Regions from separate parts of the Homo sapiens genome. Here region 1 is linked to region 2. Evidence: promoter capture Hi-C in 16 types of primary human blood cells and fetal thymus (Javierre and others, 2016). All regions are on one chromosome and are shown on one strand. Each heading gives the region's core, a stretch centred on a gene start or on the middle of the fragment in contact. The rest is flanking DNA. Distances are from core to core; before and after follow the strand shown. Region 1 has its middle 10 kb from the start of UBE2G1. Region 2 holds the start of ANKFY1 (ankyrin repeat and FYVE domain containing 1).

The links. The method cuts DNA at HindIII sites, captures the fragments that hold promoters and counts their contacts. A CHiCAGO score of 5 or more calls a contact.
Region 1: a contact is called between a fragment that was not itself captured here and the fragment with the promoter of ANKFY1 in region 2, in 2 of 17 cell types (endothelial precursors and total CD8 T cells). The highest score is 5.5, in endothelial precursors.

The regions. Positions count from the first base shown.
Region 1 is chr17:4,375,152-4,378,653 of GRCh38, reverse strand. No RefSeq gene overlaps it. Among named protein-coding and RNA genes, the nearest start is that of UBE2G1, 10 kb to the right of the region's middle. RefSeq lists an enhancer at 3,279-3,328. The HindIII fragment of the contact is 3,377 bases long and covers 1-3,207 here.
Region 2 is chr17:4,261,619-4,265,452 of GRCh38, reverse strand. It overlaps ANKFY1 (ankyrin repeat and FYVE domain containing 1), which reads left to right and starts at 1,474. Exons shown (of 25, transcript NM_001330063.2): 1 at 1,474-1,521. The coding sequence starts at 1,512. RefSeq lists an enhancer at 1,288-1,377 and a silencer at 2,028-2,177. The HindIII fragment of the contact is 3,100 bases long and covers 1,204-3,834 here.

The sequences.
Region 1 (3,502 bases), core at 270-2,769, 110 kb before region 2:
AGGTATTAACCACATACATCTAGCAGAAATGAGTGCTATTTGCTTGTTTATTTGTTTGTTTTTGAGACGGAGTCTCGCTCTGTTGCCAGGCTGGAGTGCAATGGCGCGATCTCAGCTCACTGCAACCTCCGCCTCCTGGGTTCAAGCGATTCTCCTGCCTCAGCCTCCCGAGTAGCAGGCGTGCACCACCACGCCTGGCTAATTTTTGTATTTTTAGTAGAGACGGGGTTTCACTATGTTGGCCAGTATGGTCTCCAACTCTTGACCTCATGATCCCCCGCCCCCGTCTCGTCCTCCCAAAGTGCTGGGATTATAGGCGTGAGCCAGCACGCCTGGCCCAGAAAAGAGTGTTTTAAGCTATTGTAACACCAAATGGAAAGACCTTTTGGAGGAAGGAAAGAAGTGTAGTGTGTCAGAAGTAGAGTGTGTCAGGATGAGGCTAGAGCATCCCTAGAGACTAGATTGTGAAGGGCAGACATTTAAGCCAAAATGGGGTCAGGCGCGGTGCCTCACACCTATAATCCCAGCACTGTGGGAGGCCGAGGCAGGCGATCACTCGAGGTCAGGAATTCGAGACCAGCCTGGCTAACACGGTGAAACCCTGTCTCTACTAAAAATACAAAAAATTAGCCGGCCGTGGTGGCGGGCGCCTGTAGCCCCAGCTACTCAGGAGGCTGAGGCAGGAGAATCACTAGAACCTGGGAGGCGGAGGTTGCAGTGAGCCGAGATCCTGCCATTGCACTCCAGCCTGAGCAACTAAGTGAGACTCCTTCTCAAAAAAAAAAAAAAAGAAAGAAAGAAAGAAAAAAGAAACACGGTTTCAACCGGGTATGGTATGGTGGCTCACACCTATAATCCCAGCACTTTGGGAGGCCAAGGTGGGTGGATCACAAGGTCAGGAGTTTGAGACCAGCCTGGCCAACATGGCGAAACTCCATCTCTACTAACAATATAAAAATTAGCCAGGCGTGGTGGCACATGCCTGTAGTTCCAGCTACTTGGGAGGCTGAGGCAGGAGAATAGCTTGAACCCGGGAGGCAGAGGTTCTGGTGAGCCGAGATCAGGCCACTGCACCACTGCACTCCAGCCTGGGCAATAGAGGAAGACTATGTCTCAAAAAAAAAAAAAAAAAAAATGATGGTCAGGATGGGTGGCTGGAAACCGAGAATTTGGGGTGTGGTGTGGTTTTGGGTGACAAGACTGTCTCATGTGAACATAGGCCAGCTGGTGGGAAGGGGAGGAGAAGAAGTCAAGTGGTGACAGGCAGGGGTACTGGATGGGTCATCCACGTGGGTAATTAGGTCCCCAAGGAGAAGGGCTGGAGTAGAAGGAAGAGAAGGGCTGTGAGGCAGGAACCAAAGTTCGTGATGAGCGGGTCTGCCGGTCACAGCACCAAAGGGGAGTAACAAGTGCTGCAGCTGGATGGCATTAACCTCAAACGAGCTAGGGGCTGGCCGGGCGTGGTAGGTCACACCTGTAATCCCCAAAATTTGGGAGGCCAAGAATGGGCAGATCACTTGAGGCCAGAAGTTCGACCAGCCTGGCCAACGTGGTGAAACCCCGTCTCTACTGAAAATACAAACATTAGCCATGCGTCGTGGTGGGCATCTGTAATCCCAGCTACTCGGGAGGCTGAGGCAGGAGAATCGGTTGAACCCAGGAGGCAGACAGTGAGCCAAGATCACGGCACTGCACCACTCCAGCCTCAGTGACAGAGTGAGACTCAGTCTCAAAAAAAAAAAAAAAAAAAGGTCCGGGCATGGTGGCTCACGCCTGTAATCCCAGCACTTTGGGAGGCCGAGGCGTGCGGATCACCTGGGGTCAGGTGTTCGAGACCAGCCTGGCCAACCTGGTGAAACCCCCATCTCTACTAAAAATACAAAAATTAGCTGGGCATGGTGGTGTGTGCCTGTAATCCCAGGTACTCGGGAGGCTGAGGCAGGAGACTCGCTGGAACCCGGGAGGCAGAGGCTGCAGTGAGCAGAGATCATGCCACGGTACTCCAGCCTGGGTGACAGAGCAAGACTCCGTCTCAAAAAAATAAATACATAAAAATAAAGGCTGGGCGCAGTGGCTCACGCCTGTAATCCCAGCACTTTGGGAGGCCGAGGCAGGCAGATTACCTGAGGTCAGGAGTTTGAGAGCAGCCTGGGCAACGTGGTGAAACCCCAACTTTATTAAAATACGAAAATTAGCTGGGCGTGGTGGCACACATCTGTAATCCCAGCTATTTGGGAGGCTGAGGCAGGAGAATCCCTTGAACTCAGGAGGCGGAGGTTGCAGTGAGCCGAGATCGTGCCACTACACTCCAGCCTGGGCGACAGAGCAAGACTCCATCTCAAAAAACAGAAACAAACAAACAAAAAAGCAAGGGCCCAGGTGCAGTGGCTCACAAGTGTAAACCCAACACTCTGGGAGGCTGAGAGGGAAAAGGTGGCTTGAGGCCAGGAGTTTGAGAACCTGTTTCTTTTTTATTTTATTTTTTTTGAGACAGAGTCTCACTCTGTTGCCCAGGCTGGTGCAATTTCAGCTCACTGCAACCTCTGCCTCCCGGTTTCAAGTGATTCTCCTGCCTCAGCCTCCTGAGTAGCTGGAACTACAGGTGTGCCACCATGCCAGGCTAATGTTTGTATTTTCAGTAGAGACGGGGTTTCACCACGTTGGCCAGGCTGGTCGAACTTCTGGCCTCAAGCGATCTGCCCATTCTTGGCCTCCCAAATTTTGGGGATTACAGGTGTGACCTACCACGCCCGGCCAGCCCCTAGCTCGTTTGAGGTTAATGCCATCCAGCTGCAGCACTTGTTACTCCCCTTTGGTGCTGTGACCGGCAGACCCCCTCATCACGAACTTTGGTTCCTGCCTCACAGCCCTTCTCTTCCTTCTACTCCAGCCCTTCTCCTTGGGGACCTAATTACCCACGTGGATGACCCATCCAGTACCCCTGCCTGTCACCACTTGACTTCCTCTTCTCCCCTTCCCACCAGCTGGCCTATGTTCACATGAGACAGTCTTGTCACCCAAAACTGCACCACCCCCTGATTCTCAGTTTCCAGCCACCCACCCTGACCACCATTTCTTATCCTTCCAGCTTACTTGATTTAGTGTTCACACCATGCAACTCTTCCACCTCAACAGGACCCCGTTCTGTGTACCATTTTTCACTATCCGTCATTTCCCTTCTGTTTTGTCTTCCTTCTCTTCCAAGCTTAGAGAATAGTCCATTACTACAACCCTTCTCTGCATACACCCTCAACCAACTCAGCTGTTTGTCTCCCTCTCTCTCCGTTTTACTTGCCTGGCTGATCCTCAAGCCTGAATGAACCCAACTACAAGTCATAACTGCACCTGAGCAACTGAACATTACTGGAAAAAAAAATAAGAAAAACCTCAACTGGACCTACAGGTTGCACTTTCAGTTCATGACCACAAACCTCAAATAAACTCCCAGCATTGAAACCTCCACCTCCTTGCCCTCTACTCAACCTTCAGCCCACGCTGCTCT
Region 2 (3,834 bases), core at 225-2,724:
TGAAAAAAAAAAAAAACAAAAAACAAGAAAGGTCTCATGCTATTCAGCTATGTTACTGTTTAGCCCTCCATTTTGCAATTGTCTTAACTAATCGTATAGTCCTCCCCACATTCACCAAAGATTTTAGCTCCTGATGCTCCTTTCCTTTCCTACCTCTAAATCCCAACATCTAATTTTCCTGCCTTCTCACTTCCACTTCAGCCACTCTATTCCGTGGCTCTGTCCTGGACTTTTTTTTTTTTTTTTTGAGACAGAGTCTCACTCTGTTGCCCAGGCTGGAGTGCAGTGGCACAATCTTGGCTCACTGCAACCTCTGCCTCCCGGGTTCAAGCGATTCTACTGCCCCAGCCTCCCGAGTAGCTGGGATTACAGGCATGCACCACCACGCCCGGCTAATTTCTGTATTTTTAGTAGAGACGGGGTTTCACCATGTTGGCCAGGCTGGTCTTGAGCTCTAGACTTCAGGTGATTCACCCTCCTCGGCCTCCCAAAGTGCTGGGATTACAGGCGTGAGCCACCACGCCCGGCCTGTCCTGGACTTTTCTCATCTCCTAGTGCTACTTCACTATGAACCTGTTTGCCACTTTAACCACCAAGCTCTCACAACATTGCCTGCACTGCACTGGCCTTCAATTATCAGAGACCTGCAGTTTCGTGGCTCCTCCATCAGTCCCTAGCCAGTCTGTATCCCACGTTTGATGGCCTGGGCTGTCGTCTCATAGCACCCTCAATTTATTTTGGGCAATGCAATCCCAAGCCCTGGATAAATGCTATAATTCAAAATATCTGCTACTGCAGCCTGGTGGCTGAGTTCTAGAAAAAAGTGATCCATCAACACATACATGAGGCACATGAAACCAGGCCTTCCAACTTCAGCGTCCTCTTCCAAAGTTTCTTTGCTCTTCTTGGTCTCCTTCCTTGTCTCATAACTTCACCCATAAAATCGATGTCATCAAACGATCTCCCTGATTTTCTTCCCCCCTATATATCTGCACGCATGTTCTTGTTTCCTACCGTTTTAGTGGAATAACAGGTGACCTGCCTCTAGTCTAAATTTAATCCGTTTTCCTGAGTTCTGCATCGCATGCAGAGCATCCTACCTCCCCAGGGACCTCTCCACTGACTCCTTTCTCCCAGCCTCTCCTTTCTTTACAAACCTAAGGACCAACAAACCCCCTCTCTCGACCCTCTCATTGCCAAGCTTCTCCAGAGTAGTCTGCATTCGTTGTGTCATCCTTTTCGGTGCCCTGCCAAGGACGTGGAATATGACAGGGCTCAGTCAGTGCTTAATAAATCTCGAGCCTCAAAAATACCCGGTAAAAAGAAACCCGGCTCTCCGCTTCCCCCAGAGTCCAGCAACCCCCTCCGCTTTCATTCACCCACTTTCCTACCCTCGGCTCCGCCTTTTGCCGCGCCTCCCGCGATTCTCGCGAGACTTGGTGATTCCGTTCCGCACCGCCCCGGTTGAGCCGCGCACTTCTCGCGAGGTTGCAGGCAGTGCCGGGCCAGACATGGCGGAAGGTAGGGTTTTTTTGTGGAGCCGCGCGGGAAGACACGGAGCTGTGGGGGCGCTGCTGGCCGTGCGAAGCTGCCGTGGGAGGGGAAGGCCGGGCGTGGTTGCATGGGGGCTCCGCGGGTCTCGCGAGCCTTCCTGTCTAGCCTCTCCGGAGCTTCTCGGGCCGGGGTCCGGAGCGCGGTTCCTATGACAACGTCCCTCCCGCGATGCCGACCCCGCGGGACTGCGGCCGGCTGCGGAGCCGGGCTGGCAGGTCCCGCGCCGGTGCTGCGTGCAGCCGCGGGGCCCCGAGGGCAGCACGGGAGGCTCTTGATTGCCGGCGGTGCCGGGACGCCGGGGGAAGTAAGCCTTCTCCTTAGGAAATCGAAACTGCTGTCCTGGCACGTTCTGCATCCGGAAGGGGTCCATCCCTCGCTTGCGGAAGAGCGTGGGTCTCCTCGGGCTGGGTTGGGGTGAGGTGGGGTGGGGTGGGGGCGAGGCAGCAGCGAGCTGGCCCACGCTTCAGGCGGGCGCACTGGCGGCTCCGGCTCTGCTGCAACCCCAGCCTTCAGGCCAGGCGTACAGATGAAGACGGGAGGAAGGGGTTTGCGGGAAGGGAGTTGGCCAAGGTCACACTGCTCACAAGAGGGCTGCTCAAACCAGACCTCTGTGCCTTTGCCTCCCCGTCCAGTGCCTACCCTCTGGTCTCGTGCACTTTTCATGACATTGCAGCTTAAGGCACTCTGGTCTCTCAGAGTCTGCCTGTCTTAATGTAGCAGTAATTAGAAGCCTTCATTGTCAAAGCCTTATTGTACACGTAGGGGGAAAGAAGGCCCAGAGACGGGGAGTTACCTGTCAGGAATCGTGCAGGGACATTGTTGGATCTGGGCAGCCTGGTTCTCCTCTTCACCCCATTATTGGAGAACAGTATTCCTTATTTGACCTTTGTTTATTGAGTGACTGCAGTGTGCTTGGCCACGACCTTTCCTGTTGGTTTTGAGCTTTGACTGAACCCATCACTTGATGGATCTTAGATTTGGGCAGCACCTGACAGTTGGTCGGCTTTTCTCATTTGCATTAGACTTCAGATAACCTCGTGAAGGAGGCCTGGCGTGTGTATTTGCCTTTATTGATAAAGGAATTTAGGCAAAGTTACAGAGATAGCTGTGACTGACACCCAGTTGGTTTTGGGGGGTGTGTGTGTGTGTTTTGAGATAGGGTCTCGCTCTGTCCCACCGGCTGGAGTACAGTGGCGCGGTCACGGCTCACTGTAGCTTCAGTCTCCTGGGCTCAAGCGATCCTTCTGCCTCAGCCTCCTGAGTAGCTGGGACCAGGGGCGCTCGCCACCACACCCGGCTAATTAAAAAGGGGTGTGTGTGTGTGTAGACAAGGTCTTGGCCCCGTGTGGTGGCTCGCGCTAGTAATTTCAGCACTTTGGGAGGCCGAGGTGGGAGGATCGCTTGAGGCCAGGAGTTCAAGAGCAGCCTGGGCAACATGGCGAAACCTCGTATCTACAAAAAATACGAAAGTTAGCCAGGTGTGGTGGCACGTGTCTGTAATTCCAGGTACTCGGGAGGATGAGGCACAAGAATCGCTTGAACCCGGAAAACGGAGGTTACAGTGAGCTGAGATCGTGCTACTGCACTCCAGCCTGGAGTGAATGGAGTGATGGCGGGTGCCTGTGGTCCTCGCAGTAATACTAGGGAGGTGGGAGGATCATTTGAATCCGGGAGGCGGAGGTTGCAGTGAACTGCACCAGCCTGGGCGACAGAGTAAGATCCTGTCTTAAAAAAGAGAGAGACTAGGTCACACTATGTCACCCAGGCTGGTCTCCCAACTCTTGGGCTCAAGCAATCCATCCGCTTTGGCCTCTCTAAGTGCTGGGGTTGCAGGTATGAGCCATCGCGCCCGGCAGGCACCCAGTTTTTGTCTTTACTTTTTCTACCATATCCCTGGAGGGGGAAACTTTAGGTGAATATTGCCTGAAGGCAGAGGAGTAAGAAAAGGAGCAAAAACCCAAGGGATTCCCTGAAGTTGCTTTTTGAGTAAATCACGGAATGTTGTACACAGCAGACAGCTGTTGCTCACAGGAGTGAGGCGGGTAGAAAGGTTCAGGAAGGTCTTCTGTGAGGTAAGGGGTAGTCTGGCGCTTTTGCACTTAGGAAGGTAAGTTCGGTGTTTTGGGAATACATTAGCAAGGTTGAGATTGTGGAGGGCTGCTGGTTTTTCATTCAGCAGCTTTACTGAGCACCTGCTGTGCTTTGCAGTCGGGTTCCAGCCCTGAGGAGCTCATACAGGCTGAGTCAGCATACTCATCATCCGGCAAGCGCCTTGAGAGA